5 separate regions of the Homo sapiens genome follow, and regions 1, 2, 3 and 5 are each linked to region 4. Evidence: promoter capture Hi-C in 16 types of primary human blood cells and fetal thymus (Javierre and others, 2016). All regions are on one chromosome and are shown on one strand. The core of a region is centred on a gene start or on the middle of the fragment in contact, and the rest is flanking DNA. Distances in the headings are between cores, read along the strand shown. Region 1 overlaps SLC22A5 (solute carrier family 22 member 5). Region 2 holds the start of IRF1 (interferon regulatory factor 1). Region 3 has its middle 3.0 kb from the start of IL5. Region 4 holds the start of SHROOM1 (shroom family member 1). Region 5 overlaps MIR3936HG (MIR3936 host gene).

The links. Contacts are between HindIII fragments. The CHiCAGO score rates a contact against its expected background, and 5 or more counts as called.
Region 1: a fragment that was not itself captured here is called in contact with the fragment with the promoter of SHROOM1 in region 4 in 10 of 17 cell types (neutrophils, naive CD4 T cells, M0 macrophages and 7 more); the score reaches 8.0 in neutrophils.
Region 2: a contact is called between the fragment with the promoter of IRF1 here and the fragment with the promoter of SHROOM1 in region 4, in 1 of 17 cell types (monocytes). The highest score is 9.5, in monocytes.
Region 3: a fragment that was not itself captured here is called in contact with the fragment with the promoter of SHROOM1 in region 4 in 2 of 17 cell types (fetal thymus and endothelial precursors); the score reaches 5.5 in fetal thymus.
Region 5: a contact is called between a fragment that was not itself captured here and the fragment with the promoter of SHROOM1 in region 4, in 1 of 17 cell types (neutrophils). The highest score is 6.1, in neutrophils.

What each region holds. Positions count from the first base shown.
Region 1 is chr5:132,376,495-132,379,194 of GRCh38, forward strand. It overlaps SLC22A5 (solute carrier family 22 member 5), which reads left to right. Exons shown (of 10, transcript NM_003060.4): 2 at 1,884-1,987. Among named protein-coding and RNA genes, the nearest start is that of MIR3936HG, 7.9 kb to the left of the region's middle. RefSeq lists an enhancer at 109-610. The HindIII fragment of the contact is 2,318 bases long and covers 278-2,595 here.
Region 2 is chr5:132,489,387-132,492,086 of GRCh38, forward strand. IRF1 (interferon regulatory factor 1) reads right to left here and starts at 1,387. Exons shown (of 10, transcript NM_002198.3): 1 at 1,159-1,387; 2 at 6-97. The coding sequence starts at 92. RefSeq lists silencers at 219-268, 799-1,078, 1,339-1,788 and enhancers at 260-907, 1,929-2,068, 2,202-2,700, 2,339-2,548, 2,589-2,638. The HindIII fragment of the contact is 1,939 bases long and covers 1-1,877 here.
Region 3 is chr5:132,545,161-132,547,860 of GRCh38, forward strand. It overlaps a transcript of IL5 not described here. Among named protein-coding and RNA genes, the nearest start is that of IL5, 3.0 kb to the left of the region's middle. The HindIII fragment of the contact is 4,642 bases long and covers 1-2,700 here.
Region 4 is chr5:132,829,335-132,832,034 of GRCh38, forward strand. It overlaps SHROOM1 (shroom family member 1), which reads right to left and starts at 1,313. Exons shown (of 10, transcript NM_001172700.2): 1 at 1,260-1,313. RefSeq lists silencers at 682-991, 1,202-1,621. The HindIII fragment of the contact is 14,647 bases long and covers 1-2,700 here.
Region 5 is chr5:132,355,654-132,358,353 of GRCh38, forward strand. All of the region lies in intron 4 of MIR3936HG (MIR3936 host gene), which reads right to left. Among named protein-coding and RNA genes, the nearest start is that of MIR3936, 8.6 kb to the right of the region's middle. RefSeq lists an enhancer at 2,621-2,670. The HindIII fragment of the contact is 2,636 bases long and covers 1-2,587 here.

The DNA of each region.
Region 1 (2,700 bases), core at 187-2,686, 450 kb before region 4:
TCACACCCAACCTTGCCAGCCAAGGAGTCTTTAGAAGCCTGATATTGGGAGACCTGTCCTGGGGTCTACAACCCCAGAACTCACTGCAGAAGCCCACGTGGATTGCTAGTCTAGCTCAGCCATATGGGTCCCCAACCCTCACCTCATGATAGTCCTGTGAGAAACCGCTGCTGACCCTTTGTTCATGTTTTCATCTTTTCCACTATAAAAGACATGCTAGCTGGGAAATAGAGCCCATCATACTCAAGAGTGGCAGGAGCCAGGTCCTGGCCCCTGAAGCTTGGCCTCACACACAGAGGCCGGCACCCTGTCATCAATTCCCTCAGCTTTTTCTCCGCCTCCACTCCCAGTCCTAGATTTAGCAGCCATGTGTGGGTGGGGGCCACTGCAGGGATACTTACCCACCTACCAGAGAGATGGCCTGTGGGTGCTGGCCCTTCTGAGGCTGTGGAGGTTGGAGGCTGTGGCAGCCTGGGCAGTCAGGCTGTGGTCCTCCCATGTTCTTGACTCCTGCTAGTCTGGGCTGCCTCCTGATTAGGGGTTGGATGCTCCAGTTCTTCCCTGGGTTGGGGATTGCCACCCTACTCCCAGCCCATCCAGGTTCACGCTTATTCCAAAGCGGAGCACCAGCAGTGTGCCTGCTGCGGGAGTTCTCCGTGTCCAGCCTGAGGGTTGCCTGCCAACCCCTCTGAGAGGTGCCCGGAGGCTGTGCGCCCACACTGCCCAGCAGTGCGGAGAAGCAGGCTTGTTTTTCCCTGTCACTGGCTTGGAAGAGATGCTTTGTTCTAGGGAGCCGCATGTCCCCTTGCCTGCGTTGTTGGTGAGGAGCCAGCAGGCTCCGTGGAGGGCAGGCTAGCAGCCTGGCACCAGGGAGGCAAGGGTCTGAGTTCCTAGGAGGGTGGTTGCTCATGTGAGAAGTCTGCAAAGGTTACTACTGAGCACCATCTCTCTGTCTGAAAAACATTTTTCATTTTTCTGTGAACCACTAAGTTTCCCGTTTGGGCTTTCTTCCTGCTTTTGGCTCTTGTTTAGGCAGGCGCAGCCAGATCCAAGCGTCTGGCTGCTTCCCCATGTCTTCAGACCTCTTTTTCTGTTCATGGTAACTATAGATGGAACCACACATTGGAAGCTGGAAACTCAAGCGGTGCAGCCTATTCCTTACCCCAATCCCTGTTTTACAAATGGGGAAATCAAGGCACAGCATGGGGTGATGCTTATCTGAGGTTGGAAGAGTTTTAATAGTAGAGTGGGAGCTAAAACCCAGTTTCTTACCTCCAAGCTCAGGACTTTCAGCTGTAATTGAGCCTAGTATAGTTGGTGTGCAGCATCAGGGATTCCAGCTCTAAAGGTCACAAAAAGGACCCGGGGGTCATTGGCCCAGGGTGGGAACCCGAGCAGAGCAGGTCCAGATGGTGCACTCTGTGCCCTGGCCTTAGTTTCTTGCTGGATGCTTTGGCCCGTAGAGCCCCAGAGCCCTGCTTCCAGAACCACTCCAGTGACGTTCATGCCAATGGCCTGAACCCCACTGAGCGAGGGTGCCCTGCCTCTTCCACAGCCCTGGGCTCCGCTCAGATTTTTAGGAGCAAGCGTTAGAGGCCTTGCTTTCTCCAGGGTCAGCATGTGGACAGAACACTTACTCTCTGCCTGTCTCTCCTCCTCAAAATGGAAGCAAGACAGTGGGGCCTACAATGCTATGAAAAACAGGATGGGAAAGAAGCCTGCTCTCTGCCTTCCTGCCCAGGTGAGCCATCACCTGACTAAGTGAGTTCACACTCAGAGCGTGTGGGGATGGCAGGATGTTCTGACTTCATTTTCCAGGATGCCTTTGCTTTAAAACCTTTTAAAAAGAAGTGAATGATACACCCCCTTTGCTCATCTTGCAGTGGAACCTGGTGTGTGAGGACGACTGGAAGGCCCCACTCACAATCTCCTTGTTCTTCGTGGGTGTGCTGTTGGGCTCCTTCATTTCAGGGCAGCTGTCAGACAGGTAAGGTGTCTGTCTTCTGGAGCACCAGGGGACCTCAGCACTGAGGAAGAAGCGTGTGCCTGGCCCTTGATTTCAGTTGGTAGTATTCTTTCAGCGCAGGGCCCTGTATTTTAAAGAAGAGGAAGCTATGTCTGTGATATAGACTCCATGCCTAGTAAGAAGAGCCAACAAATCTGACTCCGTAATTCTTGCTAAGTAAAGAAACCTGAGCTGTCTAAGCTGAATGTATCTGTGACCCGGTTGACTAGGTAATATGCCATGATTCACTTCTGCAGTAGCCTGGCTTGCCTCCCCTGGGTCACTGTGACTCTGTCATGCCCCTGAGCATGGGAGAGGTTGACATCATGCACACATGCACATGTGCTAGATTGTAGATCTGTAGTAGTGCCACGGTGTCTGCCTCTGTAGTCCCAAGAAGACCAGCATTCTCTCTGCAAAGTGAAAGGAGCTCTCACCAGCCACTAGTGGTATGAAAAGCAGAACTCTTTTGTCCACAAGGCTGATGCCCCTTAGCTAAGTGGCCTGTGGTTTTGGCATTTACTTTATGACAGGAGGGAGAATAGTGTTTTGATCCATTTCTTATAAGCAGGTTATTTGTATAATTCTAAAGCTTTTAACTCAAGGAAACATTAACGGCTTAGAGAATCCCAAACCCCTCGAAATTATATGCACAATGTTAGAGACTACATGTGAGCATTTTTTTGGAGAGAGGT
Region 2 (2,700 bases), core at 137-2,636, 340 kb before region 4:
CTCACTTTATTAATCCAGATGAGCCCCGGGATTTGGTTGGAATTAATCTGCATCTCTAGCCAGGGTCTCATGCGCATCCGAGTGATGGGCATGTTGGCTGTAAAGAGAACACAGAGGCTCCAGTCTGGAATCTGTTGAACAGTACCTGGGCAGTGACCTGCCCCACCCGAGGTCACTTAGTTACCCTCCCCTCACCTCAGCCAGCTGCTAGGTACTACACTCAGTGCGGAGGGGAGCTGCGCTGGAATAAAACTGCTCTCCAAATTTTTTCAGCATCTTAGGCAAAAATGCTTTTGCCCCTTCCTTCAGCCCCTCCCAGCCAGTCTCTGGAGGAGACAGGCATGCAAGTGATGGCTTCAGGATTCATATGCAGGAAAAGAGACAAAATGCACAGATACCCTAATTTCAGAACTTTTCGCTCAAAATTCAAATCCTTTGGGAAGGGAGGGACTTCTTTTGCTTGATGCCAAGAAGAAATTCCCTTGACTTGAGTTGTAACCACTAGCTAGCAAAGGGCTAGCCGTCACCCTGAACAGCCCCCTCCCGCCCCCCTGAATCCATTCTACGCCTTCCTGACAGCCACAGCGCCCACAACGCTAAGACCAGGACGCTAACCCTTCCGGCCCGGTTTCCCCTCCTCTGGAGAAGTGGCCCAAGGAACACCTGTGGCGCCTCTTCCCGCAGTCTCCGTAGGTCACGATTCCCTCCAGCCACCTGGGCAGTAAGCCAGCCCTTGCCACCAGCACAGGGAGCCCAAAACCTGTCGCCTGGGCGCGGAGCTGGGACCGCCGAAAGCCGGGAGCACTGGGCGCCCACGCGTGGGCTGACACTCGGTCCCCGGCACGGCGTGTGGATGCGCGGGACGAACATAGCGGGCCACCTACAGGCCCCTGGCGGCTGCGCGCACGCAGATCTGCGAAAGCTGCCGGGCGCCGGCAGCCTCGTCCGGGTGGGCGGTCCACGCCGCGTCCCGCCCTCCCCGCGCCGCGGCCCGCGGCTCGCAGCTCCTCCGGCGCCCCCCGGAGCCCGCGCGGAGGCCCGGGCAACGCCGCGCGCCGGCGAGTCTCCAGCCTGGAGCTTTCGACCCCCCACTTCCTGGTGCCCCGCGCGCCTTTTATTCGACGCCGCCGGTGCCCCGCGCCTCAAAGGCGTACTCACCTCTGCTGCAGGAGCGATTCGGCGGTCGCGCGCGAGGGTCCCGGCGACGCAGGGGCTGCAGTGAGGGCGCGCGGAGCGCGACTCCGAGTGGAAGAGGGAAGAAGGCAGAGGTTGCCGGGTTCTTAAGGCCGCCGGGCACGGCCGGCGTGGACTGGGCACGGCTCCGGGTGGCCTCGGTTCGGCGGGGCTCGGGCGCACGTCTTGCCTCGACTAAGGAGTGGCGAGCTCTGCCAGGGCAGCGGCGCCACCGAGCAATCCAAACACTTAGCGGGATTCCCCAGCCCTGGCCGGCCCCGCCCCCGGACAGCCGCGCGGGCGCCCATTGGCCGGCTGCGTGCCGTCATTTCGGGGAAATCAGGCTGTTGTAGAGCTAGCGGCGAAGGGGAAGTACAGGGCGGCTGCTCCGCCCCACCCTCTCCGGCCGGGCGCCACCGCCCCGGGGCCACCGCGGGCCCGCCCCGAGCGCTCCCAATCCACCCCTGCTCCGGCTTGCCCGGAGGAGGGCTGCCCGGGACAGCCCAGCGCCCCTGGCCCCAGCCTGTCCTCTCACTCCGCCTTGTCCCAGCCGGCTGGCTCCTGGGGCCATCTTTTCACCCTCCTGGCGGGGCGGGGGCGGGGGTATATCTCCCGAACGCAGGTGAGGGGATCGCCCGGGCACTTGCCGCCCTCTCCAGTGGGAACACTGGGCCGAATCTCCCGACTGGCAGCCTGGCTCCTCAAGCTTGCCAGTGGGATATCAAGAAGGGAGGGTTTCAGTCCTAGCACTACCCCTGTTTTTAGGGGTGACCCCCTCCCTCCAGGTCACTCACCTGCCCTGGGGAAGTGAAGAAGGCAGAAAGCCTACCCTGCCCCGTGTGCTGTCTGGGGCTGCTGGACCAGGGGAAATCCCAACTTGGCCGCTGCTGGCACAGCCCCCAAGGGACGCAGGACCTCTGTTTTTCAACCATAAAATAATAGTAGCCCTACCTTGATGGTTTGCTGTGATGGGAAGAGATTGTAAAGCACTATGCTCCACTCGGGCAACAGACGCTGAGTAGTTTTCAAGGTCGCCGTTGCAGGGTCTAATAGTGACCAGGATGACACCCCACCCCTTTTCGGTCTGCCTCCCTGGGACTCCCCCTGGCTGGCTTTAGGGAACAGAGGAGGAGAAGGGGTTCAGAGAAGCCCAGACGGCTGAGTGAGGGTAGGGGTGGGCTAGCTCTGATCCCTCCTAGCACTCTTGCCTCAGGCCGCCTCCAGAGCCTCCCTGTGGCCCGCGTATGGGAGTTCCGCAATGGAAGCATTGCTGTCATCTCTGAGTCCCCAGGGCTTGGCCCAGAGAGGTTCTGGGCAGCATGGAGGAATTAGCTCAGGGCTGATCAACGCCATGGGGCTAGCCAAAGGGTTGGGGAGCCCAGGTCCCATGCTCCTTGGTAAGGCCCCTACTTAACTCTCGCGCACAACTAGTCCCCGCCCCACGTATAGTCCTAGAGACTTGACTGGGTGTTCATTTTCCATCCAAAACTCTGGCCCAGGAGGCTTCTTCCTTCATCTCCCTAAAGC
Region 3 (2,700 bases), core at 199-2,698, 280 kb before region 4:
AATGGTATTCTCAGAAAAGAAGCTGAGTTCTGGCAGGAGCTTTCTCTTCCCAGAGAATATGAGAGCGTTCTCTCTGATTCCCCCTGACACCTTTATGTTACACTGAGGAAGTTAGGGCTTAGGTGAAAGTTTCAGGGGAATTGCCAAATAACTTGTTATTTTAGTACCTTAAATACACAAAGTTCTGAGTGCTTAAATTCTATCATAGGAGGCTGGGCAAGGTGGCTCATGCTTGTAATCCCAGCACTTTGGGAGGCTGAAGCAGAAGGATTGCTTGAGCCCAGGAGTTTGAGACCAGCCCAGGCAACATAGTGAGACTCCATCTCTAGAAAAAATAAAAAATTGGGCTAAACACAGTGGCTCACGCCTGTAATCCCAGCACTTTGGTAAGCCCAGGCAGTGGATCCCTTGAGCCCAGGAGTTCAAGACCAGTGAGTGAAATGGGCAGGGTGTAATACATCAAAGCTGGTGGGGGTCACATGAAACTATAGCATGCATGATCTGTCTAAAGGTGGCAGGTGCTGCTCAGCTCCAGCTGATGGTTGCCAGGTGACACACCTGGGCTCACATTACCCGATCATTCTGTTTTTCAAAGAAGCCTTTATAAAAATTAGCCAGGCGTGGTGGTGTGTGCCTGTAATCCCAGTTACTCGGGAGGCTGAGGCAGGAGAATTGCTTGAACTCAGGAGGCGGAGGTTGCAGTGAGCTGAGGTTGCACCACTGCACTCCAGCCTGCGCAAGAGAGTGAGACTGTCTCAAAACAAACAAACAAACAAAAAAACAAAAAGCACAACAACAACAACAACAACAAAAAAGGAAGGCTGAAATCCTGCTTATTATATATAATCTCTGGATTTTTCAAATGTTGGCAACTGTATAATGTACCATTTTGCAGCCTCTGTTTTACAGCAAAACTGTGGGTTCTTATTGGAAGGCTAGTTATAAAAAATACTTCTTATTCAAAATTGTATTTCTTTTAGAAATGTTTAATTGTGGCAAAATACACATAAAATTTACTATCTTAACCATTTTTTTAAGTGTACAGCTCAGTAGCCTTAAGTACATTCATAATGTTGTGTGACAAATCTCCAGGACTCTTTTCATCTTGCAAAACTGAAACTCTGTACCCATTAAACAACAGCTCCCAACCCCCGCCCCCATTCTCCCAGCACCTTGCAACCACGCTTCTACTTTCTGTCTTTATGAATTTGATGACTTTAGGTACCTGATATACAGTACTTGGCTTTTTGTGACTGGCTTATATCATTTAGCATAATGTCTATTCTCAAGATTCATCCATGTTGTAGCATGTGTCAATTTTCTTCCTTTTTAAGGCTGAATAATATTTCATTGGATGTCTATACCATGTTTTGTTTATCCATGGTCTGTCGATGGACACCAATGTTGCTTCCATCCTTTGGCTATTGTGAATAATGCTGCTATGAACATGGGTGTACAAAATTAAATTTCTTATAAAGTTTTCGTGTCATTAACTTTTCCTCTATAAGTGTGATCTCCCCAACCTGACTGTAAACTGTCTCGGAGTTGGACCTGTAAAATAATGTATTTGAAAGAGCTTTATTGGCCAGGCATGGTGGCTCACACCTGTAATCTCAGCACTTTGGGAGGCTGAGGCGGGCAGATCACGAGGTCAGGAGATCGAGACCATCCTGGCTAACACAGTGAAACCCCATCTCCACTAAAAATACAAAAAAATTAGCTGGGCATGGTGGCCGGCACCTGTAGTCCCAGCTACTCAGGAGGCTGAGGCAGGAGAATGGCGTGAACCTGGGAGGTGGATGTTGCAGTGAGCTGAGATCACGCCACTGCACGCCAGCCTGGGCAACAGAGCGAGACTCCATCTCAAAAAAAAGAAAGAGCTTTATTAATGCAAAACTCCAAATAAAAGTTAATGATTTTAATCTCCTGTGCCCAAGAATTCAAAATAATGTATGTAGCTACTACACCCTCAAGGAGATGGAACACAACCCCCTTTCATTAAGAGTGGGATATACAGAGTGACTTTTTAAAAAAGAGAACTGTATGGAAAGGGGAGAATAAGAGGAATAACTTCACAGTGGAGAAACCTGATCAAACACTACTTCAGCTAGGTGATCCCAGTCAATGGTGGCAGTGAAACATCATGTTAACAGCATGTACCTTTGATTTGATGTGATAAGAAAGGAACTTTATCCCTGTCATCTTCCTCCCCAAAACCAGTAACCTCTGCCTAACCATGACACAAACACTACACATACCCAAATGGAAAGACAAAATGCCTGACCAGTACTCCTTAAAACTGTTAAGGTCATCAAAAACAAGCACAGTCTGAGAAACTGACACAGCCAGAGAGGCCTCTAAGAGACGTGATGACTACATACAATGTGGTATCATGGATGACACTCAGGAACAGAATAAGGACAACGGGCACAACTAAGGGAATTGGAAAAAGCCTGGAGTTTAGTAATGTACCAATATTAGTTCCTTAGTTGTGACAATTGTACCATAGTAATGTTAACAATGGGAAACTGGGTGCAGGGCACACTGGAATGCTCTCTAACAGTCTTGAAACTTCTCTATAAATCTAAAACTACTTAAAATAAAAAGTGTATTAAAAATAATACTGCGGCGAGGCATGATGGGTCAGGTCTGTAACCCCAGCACTTTGGGAGGCTGAGGTGGGTGGATTGGTTGAAGTCA
Region 4 (2,700 bases), core at 63-2,562:
GGGGCCAGTGCTCCTTCAGTCTGGGCTTCATGGTGTCTGTGACAAGTCAGGCAGCAGTTGGGATGTGGCTCTGGAGTTCAGCAGGGGAGGGTAGACCAGGCAAGACCCAGGTTTTTAGTTAGAGGTTACTGGGGAAATAGCTGAAGACAGTTTCCGGTGGATAAAATCACACCAAGGCAATGGGAACAGATCCAAGTAAGGCGACCGAGGAGGCACAGGAGAACGGACAGCCTCAAATACAACGAATGATCAGGATTTACATCATACCTCCCTCAAGGCCACCTCACATCTGACCTCTCTGTGGAGGGGCTATCCAGGCCGCCCCTCCCAGCGGGTCTTCCCTCAGTACTGGGCTCACTGTGTAGGCGCTGTCTCCCTGTCAGACTGAGTTCCTGGGTACTGGACCACGTCTCAAAACCCAGTACCCGCAGCTGGGTCTGGCTAGGCGGACGTTCTGGGAAGTTCACCGGCTCTCCCTGTCCCCAGCGTCCCCCGTTCTCCCAGCCTGTCCGCGCTGACAGCGCACCCCACGCAGCATCCACGCTCCGAGTGTGCGACTGGTTTACGGGCTCATCGGTCGCTGCACCCCAGATGCAGAGTCTCTGGAGACCCGAGCTCCGTGCCATGCACAGGAAATGCAGGAAGCTGGCGACACCCGGGGAGAGGCGGCCGCGGGCGTGGACAGACCCGGTTACCTGGGGTTCAATCTCTGGGAGCCGAGGCACGGGAGGGAGAGAGGCGCAGGCCCCGGCGGCCGCAGGGGGCGGCAGAGACACGCGGAGCGGCTCGACAGCAGATGGCCGCAGCCCCGCGCAGTTCTGGGCCTTTCCCGTTGGGTTCACCGTCGGGGAAGGATCGCGCGCAGGGGACAGCGCGAGCCCGGGAGGGAAGGACCCGGCTTCTCCAGATGCTTGGCGACAAAGGGCAGGAGCGGAGGGTGGCGGAGTGAGACCGCGCTGCCCGCCGGCGCCACACGCGGCGCGCCCAGCCGCGCCCCTGAGCCGCGCCGCCAGCTTAGAGTGGGCCGCCTCTCCGCCCTGCAGCTCTGCAGCTGGGAGAGGCGCGCTGGGGTCCGACTCCACTGGCGCAACCTGACGCGGCGCCGAGCCAGACACGTCCCGGCCGAACGATGCCCGGGCTGCCCCGCGACCACCGCCTCGCCGCCCGCTCTTCACCCCCGTCCGCCCGCAGCCCCGCCGGCCTCCCGGGGGAAGCGGACCCAGCCGCCCGCTTCCCGCTCCCCCGCCCCCGCCGCGTACCTGAGGCTCCCGCCGAGACGCGCTCCTGGGCCGTCGCAGCCGCGCGGTGACATCAGAGCCCCGGGCTCTGACTCCGACCCCACCTCCAGGCTCCGGCCGCGGCCTCAGGGGAGGCGCCACGTCCGGCCGCGGGGGCGGGAGCCGCAGCCTCTTGGTAGCGTCCGCGCGCCGGCCCAGTCCCAGGTCTGAGGGTGGACAGTGCGTTCCCGCGCGGGCCACAGGCCTCTTGCCCCAGGCCGGAGAAACCTGAGCGAGGTGGTGGGAGGGCGACTACGGCGACCGCCCACCGGCCTCCAGCGCGTCCGTGATGCTCGGGGGCCGGGTCCCTCGGGGCCTGACACCTCCCTCGGTGGGGAGGTCCAGGGCGGGCCCTTAGGCGCCTGACGGCTACCCGCTTTCCCCCCCAAGCCCGGCCAAGAAAACAGAGCTGCCAGGGCCTCGTGCCTCCCACCTGTCCCGCTGAGTAACTCGGCCCTTGATCAACTCTACCCCCAGACCCCCATTTCCAAAACTCTTCCAGCTCTTTGACTCCCACCATGGGCTCTTGTCTCCTGTTCCCTGTCCCATTTCTTTCCATTTCTCCCACTACCCAGCATGGTCTGGGCCCTCCAGCCTGCTACCGGGGTGGGGGAGAGGGGGGCGGAGCACGGGGAAGCCCCTGGACTTGTGTGCACCTTAGCTGTCCTGAGTGTGTCCTTAGGGAGCTGGACATATGCATACCCACTAAGGCTGGACACTGGCGCTCGAGGCCCTCACCTTCCAGGATCTCCATTTTCCAAAGAACGCTCTGCCTGCACCTGCCACTGAGCTCTCCTTGCTGTGTCCTCAGGCTCCCCTGCCCCGACTTCCCAAACTCTGTCCTATGAATACCACTCTGCCAAGAAATGCTCCGTTCCTGAGAGGGGCTGGGGACCCTTTGATGAGCCTCTCCGGCTCTCAGGTCTCTGCCTTTGTCCTCCGCTGCCCTCCCGCTCCCACAGGATCAACAGGGCTGGGCTCAGGGGCTGTGTCCTCCCATGGTAGTATCCCTGGCAAATAAAGGTTTATTGGTGTTAATAACCAGGACTCTGAACTCTGGCCAAGAGTCAAGGTTGCCACTTCCTAGGGACACTGGGAGCCTGAGGAACTCTGTCTTCTTGGGTCTTCTTGGGTTCGGAGGCAGGAGACACCTGAGCCCGACTTCTGAGAGTGGTGCCCGCTGGGCCCTGCTCCTTCTTCAACACCATCTGGACTCAGGCACCAGCTTCAGCTGGAGCGCTAGGCTTTAAGACAGTGCCTAAGAACCTTTCGGCTTTGAAAGACTTTTGTTGTTTGTTTTGCTTTTTTGAGACAGAGTCTCCCTCTGTCGCCCAGGCTGGAGTGCAGTGGCCGGATCTCTGCTCACTGAAACCTGCGCCTCCCAGGTTCAAGCAATTTTCCCTGCCTCAGCCTCCCAAGTAGC
Region 5 (2,700 bases), core at 20-2,519, 470 kb before region 4:
TATGGGACACGGAGTCAAAGAAGATTACTTTGGAGCTTTACAATTTAATAATTGCCCTGCTGGGTTTTGAATTTGCATGGAGCTTGTAGCCCCTTTCTTTTGGCCAATTTCTCTTTTGGAATGGGCATGTTTACCCAATGCCTATACACCCATTGTAACTTGGAAGTATATAGCTTGTTTTTGATTTTATAGGCTCATAGGTGGAAGAGACTTGCCTTGTCTCAGATGAGACTTTGAATTTTGGGCTTTGGAGTTAACATTGGAATGAGTTAAGACTTTGGGGAACTCTTGGGAAGGCATGATTGTATTTTGCAACTTGAGAAGGACATGAGATTTAGGAGGGCCAGGGGCAAAATGACATAGTCTGGATATTTATCCCTGTCCAAATCGCATGTGGAAATGTAATCTCTAATGTTGGAGGTGGGGCCTGCTGGGAGGTGTTTTGGTCATGGGGGCAGATCCCTCATGGCTTGGAGCTGTCCCCACCATAATAAGTGAGTTCTTGAGAAATCTGGTTGTTTAAGGGTGTGGCACCTCCCCCCACCTTGCTCCTGTCTTTACCATGTGACACACCTGCTCCCCCTTCACCTTCCACTGTGAGTAAAAGCTCCCTGAGGCCTCCCTAGAAGCTGAGCAGATGCCTAGTGCCACACTTCCTATACAGCCTGTGAAATCGTGAGTCAATTAAACCTCTTTTCTTAATAAATTACCCAGTCTCAGGTATTTCTTTATAGTAATGCAAGAATGGCCTAACACACACTGGTTCTACAAAAAAAAAAAAAAAAAAAAAAGGAAGAAAAAAATTAATTTAAAAAAATTAGCAGGGTGTGGTAGCATGTGCCTGTAATCCTAACTTCTTGGGAGGCTGAGTTGGGAGGATCCCTTGAGCCCAGGAGTTCGGGGTTGCAGAGTCATGATCATGCCACTGCACTCCAGCCTCGGGCACAGAGTGAGACCCTGTAGCTAAAAATATAAAATAATAAAATAAAACCAGTATATGAGTGTTAATCAAAGAATGAGTGAATAAATGAATGAATAAAGTGAGTTTTTAAAGCGTGAAAAATAGCCAGGTGTGATGGCTTATGCCTGTAACAACAGCACTTTGGGAGGCCAACACAGGAGGATCACCTGAAGCCAGGAGTTTGAGATCAGCCTACCAGCCTGGGCAACAGAGCAAGACTTCATCTCTTTAAAAAAAAAATAAACATATATACGTATGTAATGGCGGGGGGCTGGGGTGGTGGTGGGGAGGCATGAGAAAAAGACCAGAAGAAAGTAGGCTCAGCTGGGCACAGTGGTTCATGCCTGTAATCCCAACACTTTGGGAGGCCAACGTGGGCGGATCACCCAAAGTCAGGAGTTGGAGACCAACCTGGCCAATATGGTGAAACCCCCATCTCTACTAAAAATACAAAAAAATTAGCTGGGCATGGTGGCGTCTGTAGTCCCAGCTACTCAGAAGGCTGAGGCAGGAAAATCACTTGAACCTGGTTGCAGTGAGCCAAGATCACACCACTGCACTACAGCCTGGGCAAAAAGAGCAAAACTGTCTTAAAAAAAAAAAAAGGCCAGGCGCATTGGCTCACACCTGTAATCCTAGCACTTTGGAAGGCTGAGGCGGGCAGATCACATGAGGTCAGGAGTTTGAGACCAGCCTGGCCAACATGGCGAAACCCCATCTCTACTAAAAATACAAAAATTACCAGGGCATGGTGGTGGATGCCTGTAAGCCCAGCTACTTGGGAGGCTGAGGCAGGAGAACTGCTTGAACCTGGGAGGCAGAGGTTGCAGTGAGCCGAAATCATGCCATTGTACTCCAGCCTGGGCAACACAGCAAGACTCCATCTCAAAAAAAGGAAAAAAAGAAAGAACGTAGACTAAGGTATTAACAGTAGGTATGTTTGGATGGTCAGATTATAGATGACTTCTGTTTTATTTTTTCCAGATTTCCATACTTTACAAATGCTTCATATATTACTTTTATAATCATAAAGCAGTTAAAAAATAAAAACTTACTGAGTGTTGACTAAGTGCCAGGTCTTCAGAAGCATAGATGAAGAGCATGAAGAATGCAAATTCATGCATCAGGCTGGGCATGGTGGCTCAAGCCAGTAATCCCAGCCCTTTGGGAGGCCAAGGCAGGTGGATCACTTGAGGTCAGGAGCTCAAGACCATCCTGGCCAACACGGTGAAACCCTGTCTCTACTAAAAAAATACAAAATTTAGCCAGGCATGGTAGCGGGTGCCTGTAATCCCAGCTACTTGAGAGGCTGAGGCAGGAGAATCACTTGAACCAGGGAAGCGGAGGTTGCAGTGAGCCAAGATCACACCACTGCACTCTAGCCCGGGTGACAGAGTGAGACTCTGTCTCAAAAAAAAAAAAAAAAAATTCTTGCATCAGTGGGCTTAGTCTAGCCTGGTTATAAACTCCTGCTTGTGGCCTTAGCAACTTGCCCAGTGCTCCCCTGGGGCTTAGCCCTGTGGAGGCTGAAACCCAGGTCAAAGTCATGTTCTCCAATCCAGAGCTGGGTGTCTCTCTCACTTCCTTTGAGCAGCAATCACCTCTACCCTGATTTAGACCAAGCCAAGCTTGCTATGCTGAGGTAACTTAGCTTATCACCAAGGTTATATTTAACAGACTGCTGAAAGGATTATAAAAAATTATGGGGATTTGAACTATCACCCAATGCCTCCGTCTGT